2 separate regions of the Homo sapiens genome follow, and region 2 is linked to region 1. The links are contacts of gene promoters, found by promoter capture Hi-C in blood cells and fetal thymus (Javierre and others, 2016). All regions are on one chromosome and are shown on one strand. The core of a region is centred on a gene start or on the middle of the fragment in contact, and the rest is flanking DNA. Distances in the headings are between cores, read along the strand shown.

Region 1 (5,571 bases), core at 1,503-4,002:
GCTTTGTTGCATGCGGTTAAGGAACGGCTCTTCCCAGCAAACCAGTTACCACCACGCCTCCCCGGAAGGAGACTCAGAAAACCGAATGTTCTTTTAATTTCCCCTAAAACATCAACCGGAGTGGAATCATCCCTAGTTCTCTGCCAAGGGGTCACCATTGAGCGGACAAGTAGCGACGACCTTGGGCAACAGCTCTCAGCTGGAGGGGCTGGGACTGGGGTATCTTTGCCACGTTCCGAGTAGGAAAGGGAGGAACCTGCCCTGGGCTGAAGGACCGCTGCGCCCGAGAGGAGAGCGCCCCGCGGCCGCGCGGTAGGGCCGGGTGGCACAGGAGAGGCCTAGGGTCCGCTTCCAGCCCCCTCCGCTGCCGGGTGCTCCCGGGTCAGCCCGCGCCTGGCTCCTGGGCCGGGGAGCCGCGGGGCTGGAGGCCGCGCTTGCAGACCAGCCCTCTGCGCTCCACCGGGGAGGGGCCGAGAAGCGCAGCTCCAGACCCAGCGGCCAGCACAAATAACAGGCTTGGCAGAGGCGAACGCAAAAGGTCGAGCTTTCCGATTTCGAGTAGAGTGCCTGGTGGGGATGGCGCTATGGAAGCGCCCTGCGGCCTAGGGACACCTGTCGCCTGCTCTGCCCCGACCGTCCGGCGCCCTGCGGCGGAAGTTGTCTCCCTACCTCGGCACTGGCTCCCGGGGCTCCAGAGGCCGGCGCAGCCCTCCCAGCTCCTGGGCCCAGAGGACCCACCAGAACCCTGAGCAGCGCGCCTCCCAGCAAAGAGTCAAATCCTTCGGGCCAGGCCGCAGCGACCCCGCTGGGAGCAGAGGCTCTGGAAGACGCGGCCCGGAACGCTTGGGACGCCAAAAACGCTCAGACCTGCTGCTCGGAGGTGCCTGGCCGGGCAGCCACTGTCACCAGCGGCAACCGGCGTGGGCGGCGGGGCAGCCCACCCAGCGCGCCACTATTTCTTCCTGTTCCGAGTCTTCCGCACCGCGGGTCCCAGCGCCCCTGGCCCACTGGCACATTTTCAATCCTGAAAAGAACGGCAGCGCTCAGCTCTGTCTGCCATTTTCGAATTAATCGGACCCCTCTCTTTCAGCCGGGTCTCAGCTCAGCAACGGCGGGGGCGGGTCTCTCCTGCCCGGACTTCCCGCACCCCAGCCTCACGAGAGGGCCCGGCTCAGCACAAGTGTTCGCTCTGTGGCCTCAGCCTGCAGTGCTTGGGCCTCACCGTGATCCCCGCTGACTCGCAGCGCCTGAAGCTGACCCTCCTTCACCTCCTCCAGAAGAGACAAAAAGAGGGAGGAATGAAGGAAAAATAAAGGGAATCGTAGAAAGAAAAGGAGGAAGGGAAGGAGGGATAAAGAAAGGAAGGGATGGGGAAAGAAAGAAAGCAAAACCAGAGTGAACTTCCAAAGAAAGGAAGGAAAGCAGAAAAGGAAAGAAAACAAACCAATGCATTGGCAAAGGAAGGAAGGAAGGAGGGAGGGAGAGAGGGGGCCAAGGAAGGAAGGAAGGGGAGAATGAAAGAAAGAGGAAGAAAGAAAGAAAAAGAAAGAGAAAGAAAGAAAGAAAGGAAAGAAAGAGAGAAAAAAATCCAAACCAAACCAGAATGCACTGGCGAAGGAAGGAAGGAGGAAAGGGAGAAAGAACAAAACCAGAAAGAACTCGCTGGCCGTGCGGGCTGGGGGACTGCCTGCCCCTGGAACAATTCGTAATTCGCCCTCACCCAGCCCTGGACCAGGAGAGGGTTTGGTCGCCTGGGCCGCCAAGGCCCTGGCCCCTCGCCCCAAGCCAGCGCCGAAGCCGAAGACCCTCACGCAACCTCCCTCAGACGCCCCAGCTCTGGACGCCAGGCCGCGGCAACCCCTCTGGGCGGGCTGGCTTGCGCTTCCCGCCTGGGCCGGGGCCGCCGGGCTCCCCAGCGTCCCCGGCCGCCCACCTGAGGCCTCACCTTCGGGGAAGACGGCGCGCATCTTCAGGTAGCTCGTGGTGAGGCGGATGATGGACGCTTTGTCCAGCTGCGAAGTGATGGCCGACGGCAGCGGGAGCAGCTTGGCAAGCTCGTAAAACTCGCCATTTTCCTTCTCCCTCCTGGTCTTGGCCGCATTCTTGGACTTCTCCTTCATCGCGCCTCGGCTCCGGGCATATTAGACCCGGCCGTGCTCCAGGCCCGCGGAGCCCCGCTCGGGCTGCGGCGGCGGGGATGGGGAAGGGGGAGCCGGGAGCCAGGTGAGTCCGCGGAGTGGGCCGCGGGCAGGTGCGGGGGGCCTCCCGGGGTTCCGAGACGCCTCCCCGCAGCCGCCGGGCCTGAGCTCCGAGCAACCCGGCGGCGCCGCCCGCCGCTGCCCGGAGCGCAGCCTCCTCCGGGCTGGACCGTCCTGCAGCAACCGGAGCCCCGTTCCTGCTCGCTCCTGTTTCCTCCCTCCTGCCTCTCCTGCCTCGGCCTTCCTGGGGGGTGGGGGCGGCCGGCGCGGAGGCGGAGGCGCTGCTTACTCCTTCGTCGAGTGCTCGAACCGGCTGCGGCAAGGCCCCTCCGGACCGGAGGGCGACAGGGGCGGCGGTGGCCGCGGAGCCATGGAGCGGGAGCCCAGCGGAGGGGAGCGAGTCGCAGGCGGCTGGGGCCGGGCCCTGGCCCGGGCGCGCTCTCCTGCCCTTCCTGGCGGCTCCCTGTGCCTGGAGACGCAGCGCCGGAGCCCGCGATGTGTGGCTAGGCGCAGCACCTCCGCTGTCCACGTGCGGCCGAGCCGCGTTTGTTTATGGCAGACCCGCCTTCGGGCGGAGCACTGGCCGCCTGGGTCCCGGAGGGGGGAGCGGGAGGGGGGAGGGACCGCGGCGGGGGCGGGGGCGGCGAATCTTGCCTCCGACCCCGCCGCGGCCCTGGAGTCACAGGCGCGCCTCCGCGTCGCTGCCTCCAGGGACTCTCCCGGGAGAGACCCGCGCGCTCCCGGGTTCGGGGAAGTCGCGGTGAGTGCACACGGCGCGCCGCGGGGACCCGCTCCTGAGCGCCGGTCGCCGGACCCCGGAGCTAGGATGGGCGGCAGGGAGGGCGAGGGAAGGAGGGGTGCCGAGGCCGCCCCTGTGGCTCTCGGGAAGGTCACCAGCAGGCGCGGCCGAGAGGAGGCGGCGCGACTCGTTGGCCAGGCGCCCTGCCGGGGAGGATCGAGCCTTCCGAGGGTGCGCTGGTCCCGCGTCCTCGCCCTCCCGGTGTTGCAGGTCCAAGAGCTGAAAAGGGGAAAGCCGGGAGCCCCCCTCCCCCCATTACACACACACGTGAAAACGGCGCGAGTGGCTCCGAAGTGACCCTTCTGCCCTTTCTGTCCTCGAAACACTAAGGTGCAAAGAGATTGTCGCCTTCTCAGGAGGAGCGGGAGGCCGCAGGGGCGCTCAGGCCAGGGGAAGGGAGGGGCCAGGGAGCCCAGCCGAGTGGTGAGGCCTCTCCCAGGGCGCCGGCGGAAACAGGGCCCAACTGCCGGGGCGGCGGCAAAAGCAGCCCGATTCAGCGCAGCCGGAATTTTGAGGAATCGGCGTTGGGCGATTAAGGGCCAAGGTCGCTGAGCCAGGGTCACAGGGTGGGCGCAGGTGGCGCAGGTGGGGCCCATGGTGATGGGGCAGAAGGCAATTGGAGAAAGAAGACTCCGTTGCAGACGCGGCCACTGGGCATTCTGGACTCTCCTTCAGGGTCATTTTGGACCTAAAGAGTCCTTTTGTCCCCCCTCTGCCCTCCCCTGTCCGGCTCCCGCAGCCTGGAAATGGGTGTGCGGCCCAGGAGTCCTCCGCGCACCCCTGCAGCGGCGGTCACATAACCCCACCTCTTCCAGGAGTGCAGCTTTCCCGGCCCCCCAGGCCAGAGACAGGCTCAGAGGACGCAGGGCAATTCCTTACCTTGGCGTCGAGATCATGTGGGGACTCTCGGCCGTGTGCCACAGGCTGCAGAGCCGTGGAGCAGTGGGGTGCGTGACCTGGAGGTCAGCAGGGGCCGGGAGGACACCGGGCCGCGGATGGGGGCGCGGAGATTTGGGTTCTCGGTGTCACTGCTCTCGCCACTGGCCCGGGATCATGAGCCTGCTGCTCCGAAAACTCGCCGTCGGACAGCGACTGAGTATCCGCTTCCCTCCCCTGGCCCTCCCCTGCGCCAGGAAGGCCTGGCCTTCGGCAACCGTGCCTGCAGCAGGCGCTCCTGACCTTTTCCAGGGACTCCTTTGAAGGTCAAAAGTTCGAAGGCGTTCGAAGCCGAGCAGGCTCCCTCCAGGGGCTGGAAGGTGTGCGCAAACCCGGGCTCTCCCCCTGCCTGTCCCTAGCCCCTTGCGGAGTCCACATCGTGGCCAGGGCTCGCAGGCTTGGTGCTCCGAAACCGCGACGCCACGCGAGCCGGACGCACAGAGTAACAGCGCTTTCCTTTGGGGTTTCGGATCCAGGAGCGCTTTCCTGTTGCAGCGGCTTGAGCAGAGGGCCATGGGCTAGCGGCGCGGGTCTCCAATGCCCAAGCCTGGCGAGTCGGACCCACCTCCGCGCCCAGGATCCCGCTCCTGGCTGCGCTGACAGCTGCCGGCTCCGGGCCTCTGGGAGAAGGAGCTCCAAGGGGTTAGAGGCTACGGACCCAGCCCCTGCCGCAGCTTCCGCAGGCGGCCCCCTGAGCCCGCTCTGGCACCTCCTGGGCTTCGGGAGGATTTAATGCGTTTCTCACCCCCACGGCTTCCGACCCTCAATTATGGACCCGGGAGAATTCCTCCTGGGCTTGAAAGGGATTACCCAGATCGCAGAAACATGGCTAAGTGGAAGTGGGAGAAACCCGACAAGTAACAAGAACGGAAACTTTCCTCAAGGCAAATTTCCCGGATTTTACGGGAAAGCGCACTTATCTTCCCAGGGACAGCCTCTGTTCACGTGTCCGCGAGGCAGGTTCGAAGCGCGCTACGGGAGGCAGAGCAATGCCGTGTTTGAAGACTGGAAGATACGTGGGTGTGAGATACCTCCAGGCCCAACGCCTGCCCAGCAGCTGCCCAAGCAGACGTTGTGTACTCGGCTCCCCCAAGCACATCCTTTCGCCGTACACGCGCGCGCGCGCACACACACACACACATCCACACACACACGCAGCTGTGGCTCTGGGGTCCCTGATGGCACCACGCAAAGTACCAGAAGTACACGGGCACCGCACCTCGAGGTTTCCCAGGTAGGAAGGACAGGGATGCCTCTGTGGAATTGTGAAGGAAGAAACCCAACCCTTGGTGGGGGCCGTCCCGGAGCTCTCCCTGCTGGAGGGGGAGCCTCGGGCCCTCGGAAAAGGACACTTAGAGCTAATACCCACAGGCCGTATGTGGGATAGTTAGTATGAAGCTGGAAGCTCTGTTGGAATGGAAAAGTACCGGGCAGGTGCTCACTAGAGTGGTCAGGAGCATCGGCGGTGACCGCAGATTGGGACACCTCCTATGTCTTTCCCTTCTGGCGCGGGGAGAAGAAATTCCTGGTCCAGGTATTGGGCCTAAAGCCGAACGCCCAGCTCAGAAAGCCCGGACCAGCCTCGCGGGCCCCAGGGGGGAGGCAGAGATGGAGCGCACGACCCCCGAGTCCGAGGCA
Region 2 (5,571 bases), core at 1,859-4,358, 110 kb after region 1:
AGCTACTTGGGAGACTGAGACGGGAGAATCACTGGAACCCAGGAGGCAGAGGTTGCAGTGAGCCGAGATCACGCCACTGCTCTCCAGCCTGGGTGACAAGAGCGAAACTCCATCTCAAAAAAAAAAAAAAAAAAAAAAAAAAAAGAGCTGCTTTGCACCAAGGAGCCCGGCCCACCAGGAAGAGAAGGGGATAAGACGCGTGCCCTTGTTCTTAAGAAACATGTGCTGGCCTCCCCTCAGCAGATGCCTCCAGATAAGCCCAGCACCCACAGTCCTGCACACTTGCCTTCCCGGCCCTTCACCACCCACAGGGATGGGAGCAAGGCAAAGACATCATCAGAAGATGCTGTGATAATGAGCCCGACCGTGAGGACCAATGGAGAAGCCCCTGGACCTGGTGAAAGGTTGCCTCCCTCAGGGCTCTTGTCTTCTGCGTTTATAGCTGATTTCTCCCAGACAGGGGTACTCTTCCAGCCATGGGGTGGCAGGGGGCATGGGTCCCCCAGGCACGGAGTAGAAGCCCAAGCTCACGCTCTGAGACACAGGAAGAGCCCAGAGAAGATGCTGGAATCCACCAGCCTGGTTTTAGCTCAGGCGTGTTCTTATTTGTACAGGGCTTACCTGGACTGGCTTTCACTGAAACTCAGATTTAATATCTTTGGGAGATGAGTCCACAATGAGTCATGGAATATTCTTTCAACTAGCAGTAGGAGAGACACTGGCCTAGGAACCAGTGTTTGGTAACTGTTTCCATGCCTATGGGAGCCGAAAGCTGAGTTCTCCCGCTAAGAGCAGGGTGGGACACTCAGGAGACCGTGTTCTGTTCGGTGGGGACCTCGCAGCTTCAGAGTGGGGTGGAGAGCTCAGGAGGAGGTTATCTTCAAATCGCTGGGGAGAGTCAGTAAAAAGTCCTAAAAGGAAAGCTTAGCTGGATCACTTTTCCTTGCTGTCTTGGGAAAATTTAAAAGAGAAGCCAAACCAAATTCATGAAAAGTCTGGGTGCGGAAAGAGATGCAATTGACTTGGGTTAAAAAAAAAGTCAATTTTTCTGATTATAAAAGCATTAAAAATATATGGGACAGGACTACAGCATTAAGCTTGTTGAAGAAGATTTAGAAGAAATATGGAAGAGTAAATCACCATAATCTTGCTACCTAGAACAACTTTTCTGAAAAATGGAAACAAGCTCTCACTATGTTATCCAGGCTGGACTCAAAATCCTGGGCTTAAGCAATCCTCCTGCCTCAGCCTCCTGAGTAGCTGGGACTACAGGAACATGCCACTGCAACTGGCTAGAATAACTTTATTTTTAATTAAGAATAAGTTAAAATAACCACTAACTAAACATTGCCAGTTCAGTTGACCCTCTCTTAGTATATAGATCAGAATGGTTTGTTATTAATATATACATGGTTTATATACAAACAGAGAGAAAGCTGGTCTCTAAAGTTTCTTGAGGACGTTGATGTCTCCTTTCTAGTTTGGCTTACCTATGAATTTCCTTGTTAAACCCTTTTTAAAAATAAATGATATTATGGTAAACTTTATTTTGGTTATTGTTAAGGTAATGCAAAAGTAAGCTGAATGCAATGCACCTATGTCCCAGTTATTCGGGAGGCTGAGGCAGGAGGATCGCCGGAGGCCAGGAGTTCAAGACCAGCCTGAGCAACACAGTAGGACTGCCCCCCCATCTCTCTTTTTTTTTTCCTTTTAAAGTAATGAGGCTTTGGTATATGGCCTATACTGCTAATATAGTTGCAATATTTCAAATAAGGTGCTTATAAGGTGCAGTATTTCCAGAAGAGATCCAAAGTTGCACATAATTGTTGGGGGGAAGGTCTAGGGGAAGAGAAAGAACCCAACTAATAGTCATTCTCCAGCTCGGTCATCTGTTAACCAACAGAGAGAACATTTAAACTTTTGAACTTCAGCTTCCCTTTCTGTAACATGGAAGGGTGGGACACAGCAGTGGTTCTCACCCAGGGAGTCCATTAGAATTGCACTGGAGAGCTTTTGAAAATATGCATGATGGCCAGGCATGGTGGCTCACGCCTGTAATCCCAGCACTTTGGGAAGCCGAGGCAGGTGGATCACCTGAGATCAGGAGTTCGAGACCAGCCTGGCCAACATGGTGAAACCCTGTCTCTACTAAAAATACAAAAAATTAGCGGGACATGGTGGCGCACCTGTCATCCCAGCTACTCGAGAGGCTAAGGCAGGAGAAACGATTGAACCCAGGAGGTGGAGGTTGCAGTGAGCCAAGATCACACCACTGCACTCCAGCCTGGGCAACAAGAGCGAAACTGCGAGAAAAAAAAGAAAAAGAAAGAGAGAGAAAGAGAGAGGGAGGGAGGAAGGAAGGAAGGAAGGAAGGAAGGAAGGAAGGAAGGAAGGAAGGAAGGAAGGAAAAGAAAATATGCACATGTGGTCGCCTCTGGGGCATTTTGTCCCAATGGGCCTCCCGCAATTGAGGTAGGGAAAGGAAGATCTTTGTTACTTTGAAAACGCTCCCCAGACCATGGTAGGTTGAAGGAGACTTGCCCCAGCTTGAGCCAATTGTAAAATTTGCCGGAATTTTGTGAGCTGGTAGCTAAAAGAGTCACTATTTAAAAATTTAAAATCATAAGCTTACAATTAAATAAATTATATTACCACAAAAGTAATAAATACTCAAAACTCATCACTTCCTAGTTGTTTTAATACATTCAACTTCCTAATTGTTTTAGCATTTTTTACTTCCTGATTGTGTTAGTACATTTTACTGGTACCTATGCTCTAGAAGTTGTTTGCACCTATTGTATCTGGAGGGTGGAAATACTATACAATGGTGTGGTGTTTCACATCTCTGCCAATGCTGGCAGCTTGAAATCAGCTACTGTGGGAGTATTTACACCACAGAAATGGGCAGATGCTAGGAATCAGGAGATTTTTCCCTTCTGGTGATCCAGTTTGTGGTTAAACATTCCTCAACATGTTACTGTCCCCGATGTGATGTAGGCTTAATTCAGAAGTGTGATCCTGGGCTCCTTTTAAATAACTTTGATCTGAAGATGAGGCTTCTATGCTTTCACTTGCTGAGATGCTAGCGCCTCCTGGTGTGACTGGTTTTGTGGCTGCAAAGTCTCTTTCTCCAGTTTCTTTTAAAGGAGAGCCATGTTTGCTCTGTTCTTCCTGGCACTGAAGTAGCAGGTGTGTTTGTGCAGGTCTTTAAGGTACCCTTAAAGTAAACAGCCTTGATAAAATCTTTTTTTCCTCTTTTCTTCATTCTTCTGTTACTTGTATTGATCCAGGTCTTTCTACAGGCACAGAGTATGCTGGCTGTGTTTGTACATTTTTGCAAATAGATAATCGTGGAAGTCTATTCTATAGAAACAGCCTTTATGACTATGAACTGTAACCAAGGGGGTGGCAAGCAACTTCCTCTCCTTTGAGATTTTGGTGTATGGAAGGTTTCCACTTAAACTCCTTTCTACAGCGTGGCCTTCTCTTTTGTTGCTGTATTTGGAATGCATACCAGCTGTCACAGGGCAATAATCCCGGAGATGAAATCAATTCTCTTAATGGCCTTTTATGGAAAGTTCAAGCTTGCCTTGGGTTGGTATATTTTTAGCTTCAGGTATATTTTTTGGCGTATTAAGGGAATAAGGCTCCCATGCATGGATTGTGTGTGAACTGTTGAGAAGTTAATTGGTGTTCAAAGTGAGCCCTGTGTGTTGCCAAGGTATTGGGGGTGTCTGGTAAATGGCACACTCTTCCTGCCCAAATTCTGAACCAAATGAAAGGTGAAAAAAGGCATGAGGCCAATGGAGTCGCAAAGACCGTTTTTGTTGTTGTTGTTGTTTTTGAGATGGAGTCTGGCTCTGTCGCCCAGGCTGGAGTGCAGTGGTGTGATCCTGGCTCACTGCAACCTCCGCCTCCCGAATTCAAGCAATTCTCCTGCCTCAGCCTCCTGAGTAGCTGGGATTACAAGTGCCCACCACCATACCTGGCTAATTTTTGTATTTTTAGTAGAAACGGGATTTCACCATGTTGGCCAGGCTGGTCTTGAACTCCTGACCTCAGGAGATCCATCCGCCTTGGCCTCCCAAAGTGCTGGGATTACAGATGTGAACCACTGTGCCTGGCCCAAAGACTGCCTTTATTCCAGCCCAAAGACTACGTTTATAACTGACAGTCTAGGTTGGAGAATGTGGCTTATATCTTTGGGCAAATAAGCTCCCTAATACAGAAGTCCAATTTTGGCGTGGGGGGTGGGTGGGGTGGGCGTGGGGGGTGGGTGGGGTGGGCGTGGGGGGTGGGTGGGGTGGGTGTGGCGGAACTGGACAGACCCCTACTCCACCCCACAGGGATGAGCCCATCCTTGGAGGAGCCCAGCCCTGGAAGTGCCAGTCACTCCTGAGAGTAAATCGAGATGCAGGACCTCTTACTGCCCATGACCCAGGTCTCCTTTCAAACCTACCAATCAGGATGCTAGACGTGCATGATGGGCAGAGCAAGCCAGGGGTTATGCTAATGAGCTCCCTCCCCTGGATGGGATCCTGTGGGTTTCCTTCTTCCCATGGGCACCCCCAACCTGGCCTGGCCAACAGACACTGCAAACAGGCGCCCTTACCTGCAGCAGCTCAGGAAAACTCCTCTATTTGAAAGCTGAGCTCTGTCTGTATTAGACTAAGTTTATGGAATGGAAAAGGGTAGATGGTCATTTCAGAGTGACTTTGGGGGGAAAAAACTCAGGATATTGTAATTAAAGTTGGTTATACCAAGAAAGTCAAAAGTTCTGGCCTTCATTACCCTTAAGTGATGACGCTTGTGTGAATTGCATCCCCCCCACCTCAAAATTCATGCCCACCTGGGACCTCAGAATGTGACTTCATTTGGAAATAGGGTATTTCTTTATGGATGTAGTCAGGTTAAGATAATGTCATACTGGGTTAGAGGGGGCCCTAAATCCAGTATGACTGTATCCTTATAACAAGAGGAAAATTTGGACATGGAGACACAGACATGGAGGATACCGTGTGATGATGAAGGCAGAGATTAGAATTATGTTGCCATGAGCCAAGGAACAGCAAGGATTCCCAACAAACACCAGGAGCTGGAAGAGGCAGGAAAGGCTTATTTCCTAGAGACTTCAGAATGGTCCAGCAGTTGGCCACCCATGTGGACCCCTTGAGGAAGGAAGAGGGAGATTTTCTTTGGGAGGAGAGATGATGGAGGAATGGGCAAAATCCAGGTGGCACTGGGGATGTTGCTGGATTGTGTGGGTGATGGCAGAGGTGGGATATCTTATGGTTCCATCTCTACTGAGGCTCTGAGCCTCCTGGACACTTGCAGCCCTCCCAGCCCATCACCTGCATCCTTCATTTTGCAGTGAAAGTACCAGAATCCACATGGTTGCTGTGGAGGGTCATCAGGCAGGCCCCCAAAGGTTATTCGGGGCCCAGGAAGCCACTCTGTCTCCACACTCAAGTCCAGCACCCCTCCCCTCCACTCTCTTCCCAAGCTTAGTCTTTAGCAGGAAGGAAAAATGGATGAGACTCAGTTTAACCACACATTACAGAAGGGCTGGGA

Evidence for each region. The method cuts DNA at HindIII sites, captures the fragments that hold promoters and counts their contacts. A CHiCAGO score of 5 or more calls a contact.
Region 2: a fragment that was not itself captured here is called in contact with the fragment with the promoter of SIM2 in region 1 in 1 of 17 cell types (naive CD4 T cells); the score reaches 5.6 in naive CD4 T cells.

Annotation. Positions count from the first base shown.
Region 1 is chr21:36,696,296-36,701,866 of GRCh38, reverse strand. It overlaps SIM2 (SIM bHLH transcription factor 2), which reads right to left and starts at 2,752. Exons shown (of 11, transcript NM_005069.6): 1 at 1,946-2,752. The coding sequence starts at 2,120. LOC105369308 (a long non-coding RNA gene) reads left to right here and starts at 2,876. Exons shown (of 3, transcript NR_188246.1): 1 at 2,876-2,958. LOC107985492 (a long non-coding RNA gene) reads right to left here and starts at 1,351. Exons shown (of 4, transcript XR_001755029.1): 1 at 1-1,351. RefSeq lists enhancers at 339-931, 932-1,525, 5,361-5,571. The HindIII fragment of the contact is 14,642 bases long and covers 1-5,571 here.
Region 2 is chr21:36,582,700-36,588,270 of GRCh38, reverse strand. No RefSeq gene overlaps it. Among named protein-coding and RNA genes, the nearest start is that of CLDN14, 110 kb to the right of the region's middle. The HindIII fragment of the contact is 957 bases long and covers 2,630-3,586 here.